Regions from separate parts of the Homo sapiens genome. Here regions 2 and 3 are each linked to region 1. Evidence: promoter capture Hi-C in human tissues and cell types (Jung and others, 2019). All regions are on one chromosome and are shown on one strand. The core of a region is centred on a gene start or on the middle of the fragment in contact, and the rest is flanking DNA. Distances in the headings are between cores, read along the strand shown.

Region 1 (3,835 bases), core at 1,054-3,553:
CACGGGACTGAGGGGAAGTGGTTCCAGGGAGAGGGAATACCATGTGTGAAAGCCTCGTAGAAAGAGAGCAGAGCAGAACTGGGGAACTGAAAGAAGAGGCTGGGTCAGATCACACAGTGCCTTTTTTCTTTTTCCTTTTCTTTTCTTTTTTCTTTTTTTTTTTTTTTTTTGAGATGAAATCTTGCTCTGTTGCCCAGACTGGAGTACAGTGGCATGTTCTTAGCTCACCGCAGCCCTGGCCTCCCAGGTTCAAGTGATTCTCCTGGCCTCCCAGGTTCAAGTGATTCTCCTGCTTCAGCCTCTCAAGTAACAGGGATTATAGGTGCATACCACCACACCTGGCTAATTTTTGTATTTTTAGTAGAGACAGGGTTTTGCTATGTTGGCCAGGCTGGTCTCAAACTCCTGACCTCAACTGATCCGCAGGCCTCAGCCTCCCAAACTGCTGGGATTAGAGGCGTGAGCCACCACACCCAGCCTAATGACACAGTGCCTTATAGGGGAAAAAAATGTGTGCCTCCTGTGGACAGGAGGGAGCCATGCAACAATTCAAAGCAGGGAAACGATGTAGAAGATGTATTGGGTCTGTATTCCATGAAATCATTTTCTCATTGTGCCCCAGGATGGCCAGCCCTAGCTGGGAAGGAACACTGAGTTCTCTTCCTGGCACGTTGACAGAGAGGAGTTTAAGAGGCAGGCAAGCATAAAAGGAACTGGGTACCTCTCAACCCCAGAAAGTGATATTCAGGGAGCCAAGGGCAAATCTCTGCTTTCAGAATGGCTGCTGCAGCCAGCAGGCTGGAACCACAGGGTGGAAATTTCAGGAAGGCAGATTTTTGTCTCCCACCAGAAAACTTTTCCAAGGACCACAACTGCTATGGAAGGATGACCACGGTCAGCTCCAGCTGCCTCTCTCCAACCCCTCTTTTGGACTGTGGGCTGCTTATAATTCAATATTTGGAAGTTTTTCTGTGAAAGAAAGGACTGTGCACATCCAAGGGGACATTTTGGTGGCGTCGTGCTGGGTGCTGAGGAAGCAGCCCGCTCTCTGGAGCCTCCTAGACCAGCATGGGATAGTGGAGCAGGAACAGATTGGGCTCCTGGGAGCACAGAAAGGACAGTTGGTTTTCAGCCTAAGGCCAGAGAGAATGCTTGGAGAGAAATCAATCATTCCTTAGCTGAGGCTTAAAATTCGAGGATGTGGCCGGGCGCAGTGGCTCATGCCTGTAATCCCAGCTCTTTGGGAGGCCGAAGTGGGTGGATCACTTGAGGTCAGGAGTTCGCGACCAGCCTGGCCAACATTTTTAGTGGCCGTCTCTACTAAAAATACAAAAATTAGCCAGGCGTGGTGGTGGGCGCCTGTAATCCCAGCTACTCGGGAGGCTGAGGCAGGAGAATCGCTTGAACCCGAACCCGGGAGGCGGAGGTTGCCGGGAGCCGAGATCGCGCCACTGCACTCTAGCCTGGGCGACAGAGCGAGACTCCGTCTCAAAATACAAAAAAATTGGAGGATGTAGCTAGGAAAAGCAGGGAAAGCCTTCCCAGGCAGAGGGAACAGCGCCTGGGAATATAGCGCCTCAAAGGGCATCTGATGCCCTGTCCCCGTCCTACCCCTAAGGACCAGCCCGACCTGCCGCACCCCCCGACCCCGACTAAGGACACTGCGACCACTTGGGGGCGCTGCGACCTCCTCCCGGGTGAAATGAAACCCGAGGGCAGGCCCCCACCCACCAAGCAAGTAAAGCAAGCCGTTTGAGGGAGTGGCCTGGAAATGAGAGAGAAAAAGTCCTAGAGCAGGAGTGGGATAGACTGTGAGGCAAACTGAGCTCAGAGCTCCAGTCCACCCTGGGGAGAGTCACGGTCCACATTTTGGGAGTTAAGGAGATAAAGGGAGTGGGAACCAGAGCCTAGCGACGGGGACAGGGCATCAGATGCCCTTTGAGGCGCTGTATTCCTCCGGCAAGAATCTCTCCGGGCCTCTGTTTCCCCCATCTTAGATGGGCTCTGGGGCCGTCGGGCGCAAAAGGACACGATAGTGTGGCGGGTCCCGGAAAGGGACTCCCGGGCGGGGTGTTGCGGGGAGGTGGTGACGTGGCCAGACAGGACCTAAAGGACTTGGACTAGAGGAGCGGAGCTGGCAGGAGCGTTGGACGGCGGTGTACGCATGCGCGTCGGGCGGCGGTGTACGCATGTGCATCGCCGGAGGCAGGCGTTCTGCGCGCGCGTGCCCGAGAAACTGACGGCCGCGCATGCGCCCTTGGTTGGCGGGAGTTTCGGAGGCGGTGACCGTGACGTAGAAGGTGGAGACCGCTTCACCCTGATCAGGGAGTATCGGCTGCGGGTGCGCAAGGCGTCCAGGAGTGACCTGGGGCTGTGGAGAGCGACCCGTGGCCTTGTGTTTCAGGTACGGAGGTTCCGGACTGGACGGGCGTCAGGAAGTCACAGACTTGTCCTCTGATGTGGCCCCGCCCGCCGCCGCACTAATCTCTTCGGCGTCGTACCCGTCGGCCCAGCTCGACCCGCCGCAGCCCCGGCCCCGACCGTGGACACTGGGGGTCCCCGAGGGCGCTGCGACCTCCTCCCGGGTGAAATGAAACCCGAGGGCAGTCCCCCTTACCGACCCCATTAGAGACGTATCTGCCGTGCCAGGGGTCTAGGCTCCAGAAACAGGGGTGAGGACTGGGTAGAGGGCTGGGGTTCGAATTGCCCCTGTGCCCCCAGGCTGGCTGTGTCACAAGCTTGGGCCAGGCTTTTTGCCCCTCTGAACCTCAGTTCCCCTGTCTGCAAAGTGGAGTTAATGGTGCTTACGGAGTTGTGGAAGGGATTAAGTGGAATAACGATGCAAGTAAAGCGCTTACATAGCACAGGTCCTAGCACAGAATAAGCGTTTAACAGTTGACAGTTGTTGCTTTTCTAAGCCTGGATCTGTGTGATACAGTCGTTATTATCCAAGCCTGGATTTGTGTGATATTGTCATAAGGACCGTGGGGGATTCAGATCCTTGACCGAGCCCTCCTTGTTATCTTTTCCTTTTTGTCCCTCTGCATATATTCATATCTTTTTACTTAGCACCCCCCACAGACAGATTTCTGCTGGGAGGGAGGGGACGATGAAGAGATGCCTAGGTGACATCCCTGCCTTCCAGGCAGTTGTTCCTGACAGTCACTAGGAATACAAATACAGCCTGGCTGGGGAGACAGACATGTAAACAGATTTTATAGCCAATGCTACGAAGGCCAAGGGGCATAACCACCAACTCTGCCAAAGATAAGTGATGTGAAAGCTTCATATTTGAGCCAGGTTGGGAAGGATGAATAAGTTTAACAGGTAGAAGGACAGATATGTGCAAAGATTCAGAAGTAGTACAGGGAATAGGACTGGGAGGAGAGAGCAGGAATGGGTAAATTGGGACTAGTTTACCTGAGGTGTTGACTACACTTTGGAAAAGTCCCGGCAACTGTCTGAAGAATAGACTGGGCCGGGTGTGGTGGCTCAGGCCTGTAATCCCAGCACTTTGGGAGGCTGAGGCCGGGCGGATCACCTGAGGTCAAGAGTTCGAGACCAGCCTGGCCAATATGGGGAAACCCCATCGCTACTAAAAATACAAAAATTAGCCAGGTGTGGTGGCAGGCACCTGTAATCCCAGCTACTCAGGAAGCTGAGGCAGGAGAATTGCTTGAACCTGGGAGGTGAAAGTTGCAGTGAGCCGAGACTGCGCCACTGCACTCCAGCCTTGGCGACAGAGTGAGATTCCACCTCAAAAAAAAACAAAAACAAAGAATAGACTGGAGACGGGCCGTTGGAGGTAGAAAAACTAGTGGAGAGACTATTAAGA
Region 2 (4,032 bases), core at 617-3,116, 330 kb after region 1:
GTGCTGTTTTTCCTTGGTTTTGATTTTCTATTATTATTATTTTGAGACAAGGTCTTGGTCTGTCTCCTAGGCTGAAGTGCAGTGGTGTGAACACAGCTCACTTCACCTTTCATCTCCTGGGCTCAGATGTCCCTCCTGCTTCAGCCTCCTGAGTAGCGAGGACCACAGGTATATGCCAACCCGACCAGCGAATTTTTAATTTTTTTAGAGTCCGGGTTTCATCATGTTGCCCAGGCTGGTCTCCAACTCCTAGGCTCAAGTGATCTGCCTCGGCCCCCCAAAGTGTTGGGATTATAGGCGTGAGCCACTGCACCCAGCTAATTTTCTATTACGTCTTTTTTTTTTTTTTTGACCATCTTAATAATACTTAATAAGGTATACATGCGCCACGGTGGTTTGCTGCACTTATCAACCCATCATCTAGGTTTTAAACCCCACATGCATTAGATATTTGTCCTAATGCTCTCCCTCCCCTTGTCTCCCCCCCCCCCACCCCCCTGATAGGCCCTGGTGTGTGATGTTCCCCTCCCTGTGTCCTCATTGTTTACCTCCCACTTATGAGTGAGAACATGCAATTTTCTATTATTTCATGGCTTGCTCAGTTATACAGGGTCCCCTTTTTTCTCTGATCACATATGGGTTATCTTCAGATGATTTAGAACAAGAATCCAGGGCTGGGCATGGTAGCTCACGCCTATAATCCCAGCACTTTGGGAGGCCACGATGAGCAGATCCCTTGAGGTCAGAAGTTCACGACCAGCCTGGCCAACATGGTGAAATCCCATCTCTACTAAAAATACAAAAATTAGCCAGGCATGGTGGCATGTGTCTGTAATTCCAGCTACTTGGGAGGCTGAAGAATGAGAATTGCTTGAACCTGGGAGGCAGAGGTTGCAGTTAGCCAAGATCATGCCACTGCAGTCCAGCCTGGGTGTGGAGTGAGACTCTGTCTCAACAACAACAAAACACCCAAGAATCCAGAAGGTATTCCCTGATTGTGTATATGAGAGAAGCCTGTAAAACACATCCCTTTGAGAAGGCTCAGTGCAGACCCCACCCTCACTGCAGGCTTCTCTGCAGGTTCCAACCTGCCCTACAGGTTTGCCTACCTGAACTAATTCCAAGAGGCAGGTCAAGCTGCAGTAAGCCCTGACTATAGCAGGTGGCTGCTCTGAGCCAAGGAGCAACCAAGTACCCTACAAGCTCCAGCCCCTCCAATACCTCCCATGCCCCCCAGGGGTGGCATCTGCCTCTGGGACCCCCATTTGAGCTCCAGTGGCCAATTGGCTGGAAGTTCAGCTCCAAGGCCTCCTGCTTTTGCTCCCAACCATCCCCCTGGTGCGGGCCAGCCTGAGACAGATTCCTCCCTGTATCCTCCCAGGCTGGCCCTCCAGGTATGGTCCTTGGGGTCCCCTTGAAAAGAAAAAAAACCCCTTCCCTCATCACAGTACTCACTCGGAAGCGTGCGACTATTGCTGAGGCTGCCGGTACTGGGCGGTGGGGAGAGGGACTGCAGGGAGACACTGTCCTCCTCCTGCGAGCAGCCTGCCTGGATGGCACGCAGGTAGCTGTGGCTGCGGGAGCGGAAGTAGCTGGGCAGTGGCAAGTCAAGCGTCTCTGCCGCTGTGGACTCCGCTTCACTGCAGGCTGACTCGCAGGCCGCCTCATACTGGTCACTCAGCTCTGCCTCCCGTACCTGTCCAGGCAAAGGCAGGCATGAGGGAGCTGGCTATCTTGCCCATCCTGGGGGGAGCGGTTCTTGGTGGTGGGCTCAGGGCAGGGCTGGACAGTCTGTGGGGTCTGACCTCAGCCCACCCCTGTCCATCTCACTCAGCGTATGGGATGGGGAGATGGAGCCCTTAAGAAAGAAACAGTCCTACCTCTCTGGGCCTCAATTTTCCCATCTCTATAATGAGGACAAAGTTGGAATATCTCAGGATATTAACTGTGATAAAAATCAGGGTCCACACTGATTAATAGATTTCAAGGTCACATCTGAATTTAGTGTGAAAGAGGTCTATAATCAATTAGCAATGTCTGTCCTGAATGTTGGAATGGGGGTGGCGGTAGGTAGCTGGATATTTACCATCCTATGGTCCAATCCCTTTATTTTACAAGGAAAGAAACCAAGGGTCAGTGAGGGGAAGACACTTGCCATGGGTACCCAGTGAGGAAGTGGCAGAACCAACACTCCAAATATGTATTTAAGGAAGATTAATCTAGCCCTCTTATACAGAATGGATGTTGGGAAAGGGGTCTGGAATGGAGGCAGAGGCCAGAGACGAAGCTGAAGCAAAAAACTGGAGTGAGGGTAGTTGCAGTGAGGATTGATTAATGATGTCTGCCATGGACAGTATGGAAAATGGTGATGTGTATGCTATCTGCTATCTTGCATCTAGTTCAACTTTGTGTAGATGGGTCCTAAGTATTTCTCCAGAAATGACTGTCTAGGACCCTGAAAATCTGAAGCCAAGGGTATGAGCATTGAGGGGCCTCACCATGCACATACTCTTTGAGGGTTCTGGAAGGGCTATCTGACCCATGTCTCAGGCCATGTTGGTAACTGAAGACCACAGAGGATAAGCTGGGGGGTCAGTTGGCCAAAGATGTGGACATCTTGGGGGCTGGCCTGGGCCACAGCGGGAGGGGGCACAAGCTGACTGACCATGTGGAGGAAAAGGTTGATCTGGGCCTGGGGCCAGCTGTGTCCCACCCAGCTGTGTAACCTCAGGCCATCACTATCTTCTCTGGGTCAGTTTCTCCTCATCTACATGAAATAGGTGCTCGCATTCTCATCTGAGACTGCATCAGGTCAAACAACTAGATGGGTGTTCACCCAATTTGGAGGGTGGATGGAAAGGTCTAAATCTGTGCTTTTTTAATTTTTTTGAGATGGAATCTCGCTTTGTCTCCCAGGCTGAAGTGCAGTGGCGCGATCTCGGCTCACTGCAACCTCCGCCTCCCGGGTTCAAGCAATTCTTCTGCCTCAGCCTCCTGAGTAGCTGGGACTATAGGCAGGTGCCACCATGCCCGGCTAATTTTTGTATTTTTAGTAGAGACGGGGTTTCACCATATTGGCTAGGCTGGTCTCAAACTCCTGACCTCGTGATCTGCCCGCCTCGGCCTCCCAAAGTGCTGGGATTACAGGCATGAGCCACTGCGCCTGGCCAAATCTGTGCATTTCAGTATGGCAGCCATGAGCCATGTATGGCTATTTGGGTTTAAATTAATTAAAATTCAGCCTGGGCAACATAGTGGGACCCCAGCTCTACAAAAGAAATTAAAAATACAAAAATTAGCCAGGAGTGGTAGCATGCACCTCAAGTCCCAGTAACTTGAGCCCAGGAGTTGGAGGCTGCAGTGAACTATGATTGTGACACTGCACTCCAGCCTGGGGGACAAAGCAAGATCCTGTCTCTAAAAAAATTAAAAAATAATAATAATAATTGATTAGTCCAGGCGTGGTGGCTCATGCCTGTAATCCCAGCACTTTGGGACGCCAAGGTGGGTAGATCACTTGAGGTCAGGAGTTCAAGACCAGCCTGGCCAACATGGAGAAATCCTGTCTCTACTAAAATCCCAAAATTGGCCGAGCGTGGTGGCACATGCCTGTGGTGCCAGCTACTTGGGAGGCTGAAGCAGGAGAATCACTTGAACCCTGGAGGAGGAGGTTGCAGTGAGCCAAGACTGGGCAACTGCACTCCAACCTGGGTGATAAAACGAGACTCCATCTCAAAAAAAAATTTTTTTTGATTAAAATTAAATAAAGTTCCATAGTCACAGGAGCCACATTTGACTTGCTCAAGACCACAGGTAAGCCAGGCACAGTGGCTCACGCCTGTAATCCCAGCACTTTGAGGGGGCTGATGTGGGAGGATCACTTGTGTTCGGGAGTTTGAGACCAGCCTGGGCAACACAGCGAGACCCTGTCTCTAATAAAAACTAGCCAGGCATGGTGGTGCGTGCCTGTAGTCCCAGCTACTCGGGAGGTTGAGGTGGGAGGATCACCTGAGCCTGGGAGGTTGAGGCTGC
Region 3 (3,623 bases), core at 754-3,253, 390 kb before region 1:
TCCACTGGAAGGAGGATGAGGGAAACTTCAGGAATGCTAGTAATAATCTGTTGCTGGCTACAGGGTGTTTTTTGGTTTGTGAAAATCCACCAAACTGTACATTTTCTTTATGTAGAATACCAATGAAAAATAAAAATAAAACATTTAAAGCCAACATGTTGGCCTTCACTTTTGACTTCAGCTAATCCTTATACTTCATATCAGCATGGTTTTCTTTCGATTTCTTTGTAGTTAATGAAGGGCTTGGATTGCTGCCATGAATTGAAACAAAAAAGCCCATTACCTGCCTTGAGCTGATTCCACAGTCAGTCAGGGAAATAGATTAATAAGAAGGTCATTATGTCAGAGTATCGCAAGTGCTGTGATAGCAATTTATTCATGTGGTTTGTAGATACACTTAGAAAGGACACTGGACCAGCCAGGCGCAGTGGCTCACACCTGTAATCCCAGCACTTTGGTAGGCCAAGGTGGGCAGATCACGAGGTCAGGAGTTCAACACCAGCCTGGCTAACATGGTGAAACCCCCATCTCTACTAAAGATACAAAAAATTAGCCGGGCATGGTGGCAGGTGCCTGTAATCCCAGCTACTTGGGAGGCTGAGACAGGAGAATAGCTTGAACCTGGGAGGCGGAGGTTGCAGTGAGCCAAGATCATGCCATTGCACTCCAGCCTGGGCAACAGGGTGAGACTCTGTCTCAAAAGAAAAAAAAGAAAGGACACTGGACCCTGCTTCAGGAGCAAACGCATTCTCCAAGTCTTAAGATATATAGAGATTTTTTTTTTCTTTTTTGAGACAGAGTCTTGCTCTGTCACCCAAGCTATAGTTCAGTGGCGCGATTTTGGCTCATTGCAACCTCCGTCTCCCAGGTTCAAGCACACCTATAGTCCCAACTACTCAGGAGGCTGAAGTACAAGGATCCCATGAGCCCAGGAGATGTAGACTGCAGTGAGTGGTGATCACGCCACTGCACTCCAGCCTGGATGACAGAGCAAGACCCTGTCTTAAAAAAAAAAAAAAGGTTCTATGATAAATAGGAATTTTATATATATATGTATGTATGTATAATTAGAAAAGAGGCCGGGTGCAGTGGCTCACGCCTGTAATCCCAGCATTTTGGGAGGCCAAGGCAGGCAGATCATCTGAGGTCAGGAGTTCGAGACCAGCCTGGCCAAGATGATAAAACCCCATCTCTACTAAAAATACAAAAATTAGCTTGGTGTGGTGGTGCATGCCTGTAGTCCCAGCTACTTGGGAGGCTGTGGCAGGAGAATCACTTGAACCCAGGTGTACCACTGCAGTCCAGCCTGGGTGACAGAGCGAGACTCCATCTCAAAAAAAAAAAAAAAAAAAGAAAAAGAAAAAGAGAGGCCAGGCATGGTGGTTCTCACCTGTCATCCCGTCATCCCAGCACTTTGGGAAGCCAAGGCAGGTGGATCACTTGAGCTCAGGAGTTTGAGACCAGCCTGGGCAACATAATACAAATAATTAGCTGGACGTGGTGGTGCGTGCCTGTGGTCCCAGCTAGTTGGGAGGCTGAGGCGGGAGGATTGCTTGAGCCCAGGAGGTTGAGGTTGCAGTGAGCTGAGATCGTGCCACTGCACTCCAGCCTGGGTGACAGAGCGAGACTCCATGTCAAAAAAATAATAATAATAATAGTAATAATAAAATAAAAAAGAAAAAGAGAATGTTAGTACTGAGAGATTTTATTCTTCCAATCAGAACTTGGATTTTAATAGGAAATTTTAAAAGCAAAATAATGAATTTTTAATGACATTGAAAGAACTAGAAGTAACAGAATCAGAGAGGTCACCTTTAGGAAGCTTTTTTTTTTTTGAGATGGGATCTCACTCTGTCACCCAGGCTGGAGTGCAGCGGCACCATCTCAGCTCACTGCAACCTCCGCTTCCCAGGTTCAAGTGATTCTCGTGCCTCAGCCTCCCAAGTAGCTGGGACTACAGGCACAGGCACGCGCCACCACGCCTGGCTACTTTTTTGTATTTTTAGTAGAGACAGGGTTTCACCATGTTGGCCATGCTGGTCTGGAACTCCTGACCTCAGGTGATCTGTCCACCTCGGCCTCCTAAAGTGCTGGGATTACAGGCATGAGCCACCATGCCCAGCCTAGGAAGCTTAATCAGGCAACACTACACAGGACAGGCAGGTAGAAAAGCAAAGACTAAGAGTGGGGAAAGCCAGGATGGAACATGGAGCTGAGAGGAGAGCCGAGGTCTCAAAGCAAGGCAGGGCCAGCGGACAAGGAATTTCACTGAAATCTTCCGTAATTTACTCATTCTTTGTAATAAAAGACTGATATTGGGTTGAAAGAGATGTCAGATATTTAAAGCATTCCAAGAAACTTTTCAAAAACTCTCCACAGTTATTCAAATAAGATTATGACATATAATTGTATTTTTATCATTTTCCCACAAATTCAGGGTGAACTTGAAAAGCTGAAATTCCTAGGAGATCTGTCTTCTCTCAGCCAAGCTTTACCTTATGATGAAACCGCAAAATCATTCATTCACAGCCACATAGCAGACATTGTGCATACCTTAAATGTAAGTATTATGACCTTATCACAAATGATTGGGATCACACAAATTCAGTGACTTGGCCAAAGCATTTTTTAGTGGCTTCACCTATGTTATCAATTCACTTGAACTCTTCTAGTATCAGTATCTCCACATGGAGGAGAAATACTCATGGCCACCCCACACATGTAATCACCCTTGAAAACCAATTAAAAGAAGAGTAGAAAGGACAGGAACAGCATTTGAATTTCTCAGCAAGGCCAACGCTACATTCTCATGACTCAAGCAGTAGTTCCCAGACAGTCCCCATAATCGTATGCCTAGGTTCAGGGGACAGCCCTGCCTTTTTATAGCTGTGAAACTGTAGGAAATTACTTCACTTCTCAATGCCTCAGTTTCCTCCCCTATAAAACAAGAATAGCTATATCTACTTCACAGAGCTATTGTGACCATTAAATTCAAAATAAATATAAGCCATGTCCATGGTACCTAATACACACGAGCCACTTGAGAAACATGACTATATTATTGTTATCGTATTTTGTTCTATTTGTACTTACTCCAGCCACACTCTGCCACCAACTCATCCATTCATTCCCTCATTAAGTGCCTGACAGTTCCAGGAACTGTCTTGGGAATTTGGGCTACAAAGACAAAGAAGACAAAATCCCTATTTATGCAGCCAAGCAAGGTATAATAAAATGTCACAGGAACTGTGACAAGTTTAAATAGGCATATGGGGGGCTGAGAGTAGAGATTGAGTGGTCAGTTCCATGGCAAAGGATCCAGAAGGGCATTGCAAAGGAGCTGATGCACTCAAGCAAGTACTTCTTGGTGTTTTAGTTTTCTCATCTGTGAAATGTCTCCTTCAGTTTCTCTAAAGCTTTAAAATTCTGATGTTGAAATTTCTTACATACTCCAGAAATATGAGTAGTTCTTTCTCATATCACAGATCTATAAGGCTGATTAGACTGATAGCTTTTATAATTCAAGGCTAACCAGCTAACAGTTTTAAGTAATGGACAGTTACCAAGGATCTTCTATATCCAAACACACTGTGGTGCTTTGATAAAGGTTACGCATTTCCTGG

What was found. The method cuts DNA at HindIII sites, captures the fragments that hold promoters and counts their contacts. A contact is called where the count stands out against the background at its distance.
Region 2: a contact is called between a fragment that was not itself captured here and the fragment with the promoter of DSN1 in region 1, in 1 of the 25 tissues and cell types used here (spleen).
Region 3: a fragment that was not itself captured here is called in contact with the fragment with the promoter of DSN1 in region 1 in 1 of the 25 tissues and cell types used here (dorsolateral prefrontal cortex).

The regions. Positions count from the first base shown.
Region 1 is chr20:36,772,231-36,776,065 of GRCh38, reverse strand. It overlaps DSN1 (DSN1 component of MIS12 kinetochore complex), which reads left to right and starts at 2,303. Exons shown (of 11, transcript NM_001145315.2): 1 at 2,303-2,404. It overlaps LOC124904894 (a long non-coding RNA gene), which reads right to left and starts at 931. Exons shown (of 2, transcript XR_007067574.1): 1 at 848-931. RefSeq lists enhancers at 1,452-1,998, 1,958-2,037, 2,048-2,187, 2,318-2,377, 1,999-2,544. The HindIII fragment of the contact is 22,977 bases long and covers 1-3,011 here.
Region 2 is chr20:36,444,361-36,448,392 of GRCh38, reverse strand. DLGAP4 (DLG associated protein 4) reads right to left here. Exons shown (of 13, transcript NM_001365621.2): 7 at 1,456-1,696. Among named protein-coding and RNA genes, the nearest start is that of MYL9, 95 kb to the left of the region's middle. The HindIII fragment of the contact is 6,823 bases long and covers 1-4,032 here.
Region 3 is chr20:37,167,058-37,170,680 of GRCh38, reverse strand. It overlaps MROH8 (maestro heat like repeat family member 8), which reads left to right. Exons shown (of 25, transcript NM_152503.8): 5 at 2,438-2,560. Among named protein-coding and RNA genes, the nearest start is that of RPN2, 10 kb to the left of the region's middle. The HindIII fragment of the contact is 4,728 bases long and covers 1-3,623 here.